Regions from separate parts of the Homo sapiens genome. Here region 2 is linked to region 1. Evidence: promoter capture Hi-C in human tissues and cell types (Jung and others, 2019). All regions are on one chromosome and are shown on one strand. Each heading gives the region's core, a stretch centred on a gene start or on the middle of the fragment in contact. The rest is flanking DNA. Distances are from core to core; before and after follow the strand shown. Region 1 holds the start of ASCC2 (activating signal cointegrator 1 complex subunit 2). Region 2 holds the start of LOC105372990 (a long non-coding RNA gene).

The links. The method cuts DNA at HindIII sites, captures the fragments that hold promoters and counts their contacts. A contact is called where the count stands out against the background at its distance.
Region 2: a contact is called between a fragment that was not itself captured here and the fragment with the promoter of ASCC2 in region 1, in 1 of the 25 tissues and cell types used here (heart right ventricle).

The regions. Positions count from the first base shown.
Region 1 is chr22:29,837,024-29,842,563 of GRCh38, reverse strand. ASCC2 (activating signal cointegrator 1 complex subunit 2) reads left to right here and starts at 4,290. Exons shown (of 20, transcript NM_032204.5): 1 at 4,290-4,386. RefSeq lists an enhancer at 3,958-4,017. The HindIII fragment of the contact is 14,310 bases long and covers 1-5,540 here.
Region 2 is chr22:30,429,102-30,434,641 of GRCh38, reverse strand. It overlaps LOC105372990 (a long non-coding RNA gene), which reads right to left and starts at 1,956. Exons shown (of 4, transcript NR_148046.1): 1 at 1,398-1,956; 2 at 747-1,025; 3 at 257-350. The HindIII fragment of the contact is 3,341 bases long and covers 1,317-4,657 here.

The DNA of each region.
Region 1 (5,540 bases), core at 3,041-5,540:
GTTGGACACATATTAGCTCAGACAAGAATGTGTCCTTTGTAAACCAACATTCCTCATTAAGCTCTTTAGGCAAGGGAGAAAGATGAAAGAAATGTAAAAGTTAACGCTCCAGCTGATAGGGAGTCTCCTTTCTTCCTTCCTTTTCACTAACATTTTTTGAGCACCTACTGTGTTCTTGGCATTGTCTATATTATCTCATTTAAGCCTTCTGTTTTGTTTTGTTTTGTTTTGAGACTGAAGTGCCGTGGCACAACCACAGCTTACTGCAGACTCCATCTCCCAGGCTCAAACTATCCTCCCACCTCAGCCTCCAGAGTAGCTGGGACTACAGGTGTGTGCCACCACACCCAGCTAGTTTTTTTATTTTTATTTTTTGAGAGACTAAGTCTCATTATGTTGCCTGGGTTGGTCTCGAACTCTTGGCCTCAAGCAATCCTCCCACCTCAGCCTCTCAAAGTGCTGGGATTACAGGCATGAGTCACCACACCCAGCCTTAAGCCTTCTAATGATGATGAGGTGGATATTAACTACCTTGTTTAACAGATGAGAAAACAGATATGTTTGGAGAAGTTAGGTGACTTATTGGATGTTTTGTCTTCTTACAGTCATGTTATTTAGTTCCAAAACCTTAGTGATATGAACATCTTTGTACCCATAGGGAAAGATGGAACCAGTGCATATATTTTCTCCAGATCTACTATTTTAAGTTTTTCCTGGACCAAAGGCTGCTGTATGTGATTTTCTCCCAACTAATCACCAAGATACAGATTGCATTTTCCTTGTGCCCAGTGTGTGTGGATGACAGAGAAGAAAAAACAAAATAAAACAAAAACACACAGTTTCTGGCACCTTTTTCTGTCCCTTCCATGTCAGTAGAAGATCAGTTTTCCTAAAAATGACAGCAACAGGCTGGCATGGTGGCTCATACCTGTAATCCCAGCACTTTGGGAGGCTGAGGTGGGAGGATCGTTTGAGCCCAAGAGTTCAAGACCAGCCTGGGCAACATAGTGAGACACCATCTCTACAAAAAAATTAAAAATTAGCTAGGCATGGTGGTGCATGCCTATAGTCACCCCTACTCAGGAGACTGAGGCAAGAGAATTGTTTGAGCCCAGGAGGCAGAGGCTGAAATGAGCCATGATCACACCACTGCACTCCAGCCTGGGTGACAGAGGGAGACCCTATCTCAATAATAATAATAATAATAATAACAGCAACAAAGGGAAACATTCACTGTTCTGACGCAGCTTGTGGCCCTTGAGATCTCTTGGAGCTTGGGGCTAAACAGGGCTGAATTCAAATCCCCACTCCACCCACTTACCAGCTCTGTGACTCTGGTCTAGTCTTTAAACCTCTCTTTAAAATGGGGTCATAATAGCGTCTACCTCTTATCATTGTTACAAAAAGTCAAAGAGCACCTGGCTCAGTGGCTCACACCTGTAATCCCAGCACTTTGAGAGATCAAGACGGGCAGATCACCTGAGGTCAGGAGTTTGAGACCAGCCTGCCCAACATGGCAAAACCCCATCTCTACTAAAAATACAAAAATTAGCCCAGTGCATGCCTGTAGTCCCAGCTACTACGGAGGCTGAGGCAGGAGGATGGCTTGAACCTGGGAGGCGGAGGTTGCAGTGAACCAAGATCGTGCCACTGCACTCCAGCCTGGGTAACAGAGTGAGACTCCATCTCATTTAAAAAAAAAAAAAAGTCAAAGAGATAATATGTGTAAAATGCTTATTCCAGTGCCTGGGATGAAGCAAGGGTTTGACAAATGTGGTCATTATTATCACAACTGTCTTTATCTCTCTGCACCTCTACTTCCTCTGCTGCAGACCTGGGGTTGATATGCATCCTCCAAGTATCTGTGGCAGGCAGACTCTAGAATGGCCTCCATTGATTCACATCTTTTGGTATTCATGCCCTTGTGTAATCCCCTGTGGGCAAATCCTGTGACTTGCTACTAACAAATAGAACATGGCAAAACTGATGTCACTTTCTTGATTAGGTTACATGAGGTTGTAATTTCTCTCTTCTTAGTAGAATCTCCTATTGCCTCCTTTTGTTTGTTTGAGACAGGGTCTTGCTCTGTTGTGCAGGCTGGAGTGCAGTGGTGTGATCACAGCTAACTGCAGCCTCGAACTCCTGGGCTCAAGCAATTCTCCTGCCTCGACCTCCTAAGTAGCTGGGACTACAGGCATGCACCAGCATGCCTGGCTAATTTTAAATTTTTTTTTGTAGAGACGAAGTCTCGCTATGTTGCCTAAGATGGCCTCAGACTTCTGGGCTCAAGCAATCTTCCCACCTTAGCCCCCCGAAGTGTTGGGATTATAGGCATGAGCCACGGTGCCCGGCCCCTATTGCCTTCTTTTATTTATTTATTTATTTTTAATTTTTAGAGACTGGGTCTTGCTATGTTGCTCAGGCTCAATTTGAACTCCTAGGCGCAAACAATCCTCCTGCTTCAGCCTCCCAACCTGCTGGAACCATAAGCATGTGCCACCACTCTTGGCTTCCCTATTAACTTTTAGGCTTGCATGCTTTGATGAAGCAGGCTGCTACACTGGAGAAGCCTACGTGACAAGCCTTTAGCCAAAATCCAGCTAGGAACTGAGACCCTTAGTCCAACAACCATTAAGGAACTGAATTTAGCCACTAGACATGGGAAGCAGATCCTTTTTGAGTTGAGCCTTTAAATGAGACTCCAGCCCTGGCCGATATCTTGATTGCAGTCTTGTGGGTGACCCTGATGCAGAGGAGCCAGCTATGCCATCCTCAGATTCCTGGCCCACAGAAAATGTGAGATAATAAATATGTTTGTTGGCCAGGTGTGGTGGCTCACGCCTGTAACCCCAGCACTTTGGAAGGCTGAGGCAGGCGGATCACGACGTCAAGAGATCGAGACCATCCTGGCCAACATGGTGAAACTCCGTCTCTACTAAAAATACAAAAATTAGCTGGGCCTGGTGGCTCATGCCTGTAGTCCTGCCTACTTGGGAGGCTGAGGCAGGAGAATCGCTTGAACCCACTGTAACCTCCGGGAGGCAGAGGTTACAGTGAGCCAAGATCACACCACTGCACTCCAGCCTGGTGACAGAGTGAGACTCTGTCTCAAAATAAATAAATAAATAAATGTGTTTGTTATAAGTGGCAAGCAGTGTGTTGTTATAAGTTTGTGGTAATATGTTATGCAGCAATACAAAACTAATATAATATCCAGCCCCTCTCATCTCATTTCTGGTTTACAGCCCATCTCTCCTATTTCCTTAGCACCCTGCATTCATCACACTGACTCATTGCTATTGGTTTTCTTGCACTTCCTATCCTGTAAGCCCCTTGAAGACAGGCACTGAACTAAGCATTCCTTGTAGCCCTAGTGCAGATAGCAGGGGTTGGCAGGAGTGTCCTGGGAAATATTTCACAATCCCAGGGTGGGGTTGTGTTCTCCATTCGGGGGCTTCTATAACACCCCAATAATGATGGTGGTTGGTTTTGAATTCTTACTGTGTACCAGGCACTGAGATGAAGCCAGGAATGTGTGTTCTTAACAAGTTTTCTGTGATGATTCTGATCCATAGTCAGGCTTAGGAACCACTAAACCTACATTACCTGAGACATTCTGTAGAAAAAATTGCATCCTTCTCTTAGGATAGCTATACTTGTAACTTCCTTAAACAAAACAGAACAAAACTGTATTGCATACATACAGAAAAATGCACAAATCTTAAGCGTACAATTTGATGAATTTTCCAAAGTGAACACATCTACATGGCTACCACCGAGATGAAGACAGGGGGTGACCCCAGCCTCACTTGTGGCCCCTCCCAGCCCACAGCCCCAGAGGAAACCACCAATTTTAACACCATCACTACTCATGAGTTCTGTCTGTTCTAGAATTTCCCGTAAATGAAATCGCAGTCTGTACTTGTACATCTGCTTAACATTATGTTCGTGCTTTTGACTTGTTAAAATTTCTCTTCTGGATTAAATATGTAAAACGGTGACTAAGGAGGTCGGGCAGAAGGTGGAAGCCTGGGATTCCGAGACGTCCTCTCAGGTGCCATACTTGGATTTCCCGAGAGGTGTAATCACACAGCCCGCCCTCAGCTGACCTATTCTCTGCTTAAGCAGGAAGGGAGATAGGAGGGGAAGGGGGCGTGGCTACAGACGCCGAGTGTGGGGCGGAGTCTTAAGAAGAGAGGCGCAACCCGGGTCCGGCTTCCCGGCGGTAGTTTGCTCGGCTCTGGGGGCGGGGCCAGGCCGAGACTTCCTGTCTGCTCCTGCGGAATCGCAGTTTGACCCCGGAAGTGCGGGCGCTCAGGGAGCTGTCACCGTGGTCGGCGGCGGCGGCGGCGGCGGCGGCACAGAGCCGGTGGTGGAGCCGCCGAGGTGAGTGCGTGGCTGGTCCCTGCCAGATGCAGGGCAAGGGACCCCGGAGGAGCCGCGGCTATGCCTTGGGCAGCCTTGGCTCTCCCATCCTCTGGCCTCCATTGCGGGGCCCACGCTTACGCTACCTGAGGGGTTGTGAGCCGCCTCTCGAGACTTGGCCGCCAGGGTCAGGAGCCACGGGTTCGAAGTTCGGCCCCAGAGTGGCGTTGGACCAGCCACGATCCCCCCACGTCCTCACACCCGGGGCTTCAGTTTCCTCAGGGTTCATTCATTCGTTCAGCAAATATTTGTGGAGTGCTTCCTATGTGCCAGACACAGATCTAGACATTGGGGATACAAAGAAAGCAAGACAGACAAGGCTTCTGCCCTCATGGAGCTTACAGTCTAGTGGGAGGAGATGGTCAACGACAAGCAAATGCACAAGGTCATTAAAGCTATGACAGTAACTGGGAGAGTGGATACTATAGGCAGAGCCATCAGAAGGTCTCTGAGGAGAGTAGTATTTAATTGAGAGACTAGAGGAATGATGACAAAGAGGCTGAGGGAGCAGTAGCCCCGGGGATGCTCCCAGGCCATATTGCAATTGGGTGCTTGTAGGGAGCTCCCCCTCCCTTTCTTAGCTTTTGGCTTTTGCTGTCCTGCCTGGCAGGGGAATACAGTGGTGGGCACAGACATAGTCATGATTATTGTTTGTCCTTTTGGAGCTCAAAGTTCAGATTGTCCAGTTAATTTATTTTTTCCCCCCAAGACGGGGTCTTGCTCTGTCGCCCAGGCTGGAGTGCAGTGGCGTGATCTCGTCCCACTGCAACCTCCGCCTCCCGGGTTCAAGCGATTCTCCTGCCTCAGCCTCCTGAGTAGCTAGGATTACAGGCATGCACCACCACGCCCTGCTAATTTTTTTTTTTTTTTTCGGTAGAGACGGGGTTTCACCTTGCTAGCCAGGATGGTCTCGATCTCCTGGCCTCGTGATCCGCCCGCCTTGGCCTCCCAAAGCGCTGGGATTACAGGCGTGAGCCATCGCGCCCAGCCCTGCCTACTTAATTTGTACCCGTGCTTTAGACAAAAACTCAGGTCTTCCTTGACATCACTTCTTCCTCAAGCCAGGTCTCTCTTTTAAATGCTGCCACAGCTTCATGAGCCTTATCTACATAGCT
Region 2 (5,540 bases), core at 1,738-4,237, 590 kb before region 1:
GCCCAAGGTCCCACACAGTAGAAGCCTCTCCAGACAGGATCCAGAAGCCAGGACCCTCCTTGGTTCTGATCAATGGGCACCTTGAGTGGGTCTTTGTGGTCCAGGCCAGTGTCAGTTTCCTCAGAGGCCTTTAGTAGCAAGATGATGTCTTCTATAAGCCTGTTCATGCAAGGCTGTGACTGATTCCCCGGGCCAGCTGCCTCCCTTGCCTCAGAGCCTACCTCCACCCTCCACACCCAAAACAGGGGCCTCCTACCTGCCAAGGACCTTTGATAGGGTAATCAGGGGGCCAGGCAGGTAATCTCACAACTGTCACTCATACTCCCAGGGAGGCATCCAGAAGTTCTTACCTAGAGGTGAGGGATGGAGGTGGTCAGTGCACCAGAGATGGGAGCTAGGGGTGGCATGGACCAGACCTGCATTTAACAAGCAAAGAAACAGAGGCTAACAAAAGGTCAGTGACTTGCCCATGATGTCACAGCCAGCAAGAGCTGGAGCTGGGATTTGAACCTGGGTCTAGGTCACAGTCCAAAGCCTCCATTCCCAGTATACCTCACACTGCCCACTCTAGGCCAAAGCAGTTGGGCTTGTGGTCCAGCCAAGCATGGGGAACTATTGCAGAAATTCAATCTGAGCTATTTTGAGCCTCAGTTTCCTCACCTCCCACACAATTAAGTGAGGTCATGTACCTCAAATGCCAGTTACAGGGTAAGGCATGCAGTACACCTTTGGTGAACATGACTCACCATGAGTGCCCCTGTGGAAGGAACAGGCCTTCTTGGTAGCATCAGATGGGACCTTTAGATTCCAGAGCAACAGCTTGTGGTGCACCCCGTAACTTCCAAAGATTCCTCAGCTTGGGTCTCTGTTCCTACGGGGTGGCAGAGTGGGGAGGGGGTTATCTGTTTCCACTCACATCAGCAGGAGTACCAGTAAAGCTGAAGGCCTGGAAGGAGAGCTCCAGTCTCTTGGGGACCTCTTGGGGCACGAAGTGGGAGTGGAAGTTCTTGCCGTTCACCAGGCACCTGGAAGGCACAGGTTGGAAGGTCATCAGGGTCAGACCCCTGAACTGGGATCTGGTCCTAGCCCCAACACCACCATACACCATCATTTGTTGAGAATTCTGCATGCCAAGCACTGAGCTAAGCGTCACCCCATTCAGTCTACACAGCAGGCTTTGAAGATTCTGGCACTATCCCCATTTCACAGAAGGGCAAACAGAGGCTCCAGAGGTGAAAGGGCCAGTAAAGCATTCTTGCTCCCCTGGCCTAGAAAGGACTACTCAAGAACGCCCAGGGAGCACTATCTGGGCATCCGTGCCTTCCAGCCCTGGAAGGCTCTCAGCCCCTGTCCCAGCCTCCCCAGAGATATCACCCACTGAATTGTACCCATCCTACCCTATCCTCCTCCTCCAGGTTCAGTACCCATGATTCCTGACAAGGCTGTAGTGTGCAGGGGCCACTTCCATATCCTGGCTGGGGCTGATCACACACTCGTCCACATATACCTGTAAAGGCTAATGGGAGCTGCCAACCACAGCAAACTCCATGTGGAGCTCAGAGCCCAGGAAAATGGTGCTGGTGTTGGTGGGGTCTGGATCCTCCAGTATGGCCCCACCCTGAGGTGGAATGAAACCAAGATGGGGAAGACACGAGACCCAGAGATGCTGAAGGGTTTGCCTGAGGCCACACAGCAAGAGGAGAAGCAGGAAAAGCTAGGGCCAGGTGGCCAGAAGCCCAGTGCCCTCACACTCTGTTACTGGTCCTCCCTCACTTCCTTATTTCTCCAGGGGTAACCTGGCCCAGAACTGGAGGCACAGGAGTCCCTGAGCTAGAAGACCTTCCTCTTGGGACATTACTTCAGCCCAGCCAATGTCCCCCACCTGTGGGAGGCAAAGAACCAGGCCAAAGTCTCATGCTGAAGTCCAGATTTCCAAACGCAGCCAGAGAGTCAGTGACCAAGGAGGTGGGAGGTGAGATGGGAGCTCCTGGGCTGGCAGGGAAATAAGGGGGGGGCGGGGAACATTGCAACTCTGGCATGTGAGGGGGCCCAGAAAACAAACACTAAAGGCCCATGCCAAGTCCCCCAGGGCAGCCCATGAGGAGGAAGAACAGGAGGGAAAAGGCCAGGAATTCCAAATTCCAACCCCCAGGTGAGCATTTCCAGCCCTGCCCCAGGCTCACACCAAGTGGGGGCCAGGAGGTCAGCGCCTGGTGGCCCCTTTCTGGAGGGGCAGCCCCCATCCAACCTACCATTCCCTCTTCCTGCAGACCTCCAGGTGGCAGGGCCCTAGACAGGCTTAGGGGTGCTAGGCATTGCTCACGCCTTGACCACACTGCTGACCCAATGGCGGGAGGCAGCACTGCAGGGCTGCTCTGAACTGGGTGGTGGTGCATAGACCAGGTCAGCAAATAATTCCACTATCTTTCCTGAGATCTGCGAGGATACTTGCTCCTTAGGATGGTGGGAAAAGGCAGGAAAGGTCTACTCCCAGCTTGGGCCCCCACCTCACTGGGTGGTCTTGAAGTCACTTGCCCTGTCTGGGCCTCAATTTCCTGCTAGGCCTCATTCGAGGTCCCTGTCTTGCTTAAATGCCTATTCTGGCAGGGCTCGGTGGCTCACACCTGTAATCCCAGCACTTTGGAAGGCCGAGGTGGGAGGATCGCTTGAGCCCAGGAGCTGGAGACCAGCCTAGGCAACATAGCGAGATCTAGTCTCTGCAAAAAAAAAAAAAAAAAAAAAAAAATCAAAAAATTATCCAGGCACACGCCTGTGGTCCCAGCTACTTGGGAGGCTGAGATGTGAGAATCACTTGAGCCTGAGAGGTAAAGACTACAGTAAGCCATAATTGCACCGCTGCACTCCAGCCTGGGCAACAGAGCGAGACCCTGTCTCAAGGAAAAAAAAAGCCAATTCTGCTTTGAAGAATGATGTGCTGAGTTGCATCTGGTGGTAGACAGTGGGGTCTTCCCTTCTGTGAGCCTCAGTGTCTTCATGTGGAATATGGGAATGATGGTTTTATCTCCTCACGGGGCTGTTGAGGATGCAAGAAACAAATGCACGTAAAGGGCACGTACAAACACACAGATGCTAAATGGCAAATCTGCATCAAATCCTTAGCTACTGAATTCTGCAGAGATACAGGGCTCTGCATCTTTGAGAGAAAAACTCACACTCGGAGAGGCTGTGACTTGCAAATCAGTATGATCTGATTCTACCCTTCTTTCCAGCCCAGACACCCCAGCTCTTCTCCCCCGAATCTCCCGGGTACTCCCTGGCTCTTGGCAGCCTTGTCCTCGTGAGCCTCCAACAGCCCCCTCACCAGTTGGATGAAGCCATAAGCTTTGAATGGGGCAGTGAAGACCTCATAGCCAGGTATGGCAGGGACTGGGGAGGGCAGGCAGGTGCCAAGGCACAGGTGGCAAGCATCCACCTGGGGCTCCTTCCTCACTGCCAGGAGGACATCTGTCTGATTACAGTCCTGCAGGAGGCTGTCTCCTGGCAATCCAGCCCAGGCTAGCTCAGGCGGAGAACCAGACTCAGCGAGAACATGGCCAGCAGAGGGTGCCCAAAAACCTCCCCCAGCATCCCCCACCTTCAATTAATTCCCTGCATCTCCAGAATGGAGCAGGGAGCTGGGCACAGTGACTCACGCTTGCAATCCCCGCATTTTGGGAGGCTAAGGTGGGCAGATCAGTTGAGGTCAGGAATTTAAGACCAGCCTGGCCAACATGGTGAAACCCCGTCTCTACTAAAAATACAAAAATTAGCTGGACATGGTGGCATGCACCTCTAGTCCCAGCTACTTGGGACACTGAGGCAGGAGAACTGCTTGAACCCGGGAGGCAGAGGTTGCAGTAAGACAAGTTTGTGCCACTGCACTCCAGCCTGGGTGACAGAGCGAGACTCAGTCTCAAAATGATAATAATAATAATAAATGGAGCAGGGTAAAATGTTGGGGGGTTGTGGAGATGGTGGTGTTTCCCCCTACAGACAGGATGTCCACCGACCTCATCCCTATCAGCCTGGCCTGGGAGTGCCTCAAAGCCCCTTCTGTGAGCACCTACTATGTGCCAGGCATCTGCAAACTTGCACCCCGGTATTTCCTCACAAGTTACCACCAACGGGGCAGTCAAGGGCAGAGGTGGCCCACAGTAAGGCATAGTAAGGGGCAACAACAGAAGGGGCACTGGAGCTGGTTCTGAAGGGTGCTCATAGCTGGCCAAGAGGAAAAGGATTTGCAGCTGAGGAACAGTGTGTTGTGAGGAAAGGCATAGAGGCACAGGAGGGCAGGTGATGGGGAGAAGGACAAGGCTGGGCGCTTAGGCCCATGAGCACAAAGCCTATATGTGGCCTGCACAGATCCCAGCTTGAGGGAGAGCCTGCAGAGTGGAAAGTGGAGAGTGAGTGAGCAAGGAATTGGTGGTAGATGCCAGGAGATGTCACAGGGATGCAGGTGTGAATGTACCCCGCATGGGGCTGTGACTGCCGGGGGAGAAGATGAGCTGGGAAAATGCTGGGCTGGAGAAGGATGTGAGTGCCAGCTCAGACAGGGAATGGGGGGTGGGGTCGGGGGCTAGAGAACAAGGCGGGGCTTAAAGCCTTTAAGGGAGCTGGGAGGGAGTGACAGGTGACTGGGCAGAGGCCATAGGGGCTTGGGAAGGGGACCTTGCCAGTGTGGGACAATAAGAGTAGCAGAGAAAGGCTCAGCCCACATCAGACTCATCCTGTAGCCATGGATACCCCCAGAGCAGCAGGGGCCACCACCCCGGAGCCCCCATCCTGTCTTGCTGGCAGCACCCCTACCCAGCCCTGCAGCCCCTTTAAGTCCCAGCCCAGGTGCAGGTGAGTCCCACCAGGACAGGGTCAGCCTACCTGACTGCACCTGGGCTGCAAGGGATGGGGCCAGGGTCTTGGTGGGAGCTGATTTGGTGCTTGGGGCAGGGCTGAGAGGGGCCCAGGTCTGCTTCAGCCCTGTGCTCCCACCTCTCTACCTCTCTGAGCTGTTGAGGGGGATGGCCCAGGATCAGAGGAATGGCCCCCTCTAGCACTCTCGAGCCCAGCAGCTCAGGGGAAGCCACAAGGAAAACAGGCCATTCCCTGATTCTGAGTGTAAGAAGCCCCCTGGTCACTTCCTTCTCCAGGCTGCCGAGTCCCCTCATGAGGAGGTCTCATGTGACCCTCATATGGGGCTGACACCACCATCTTGGCCACCTTCAGGCTCAGGTGGTATCTGCCCAACAGGCTCCCCTCCCAGAGGGGTTGGTGCTTTAGGAGGCTAGAAAAAGAGGGCAATGCCAGGCTGAGTGCAGTGGCTCATTCCTATAATCCCAGCAGTTTGGGATGCTGAGGTGGGAGGATTGCTTGAGCCCAGGCATTCAAGGCCAGCCTGGGCAACATAGGGAGACCCCCATCTCTATTAAAAGTAAGTAAGTAAAGGGTAATGCCTACCCCAAAGGAGGCTGGCAGCACCAACGTGGGATGCCAGGCACCTGCAGGGAAGCACTAATGGGCGGGGAGACTGCTACCCATCCCTCCTC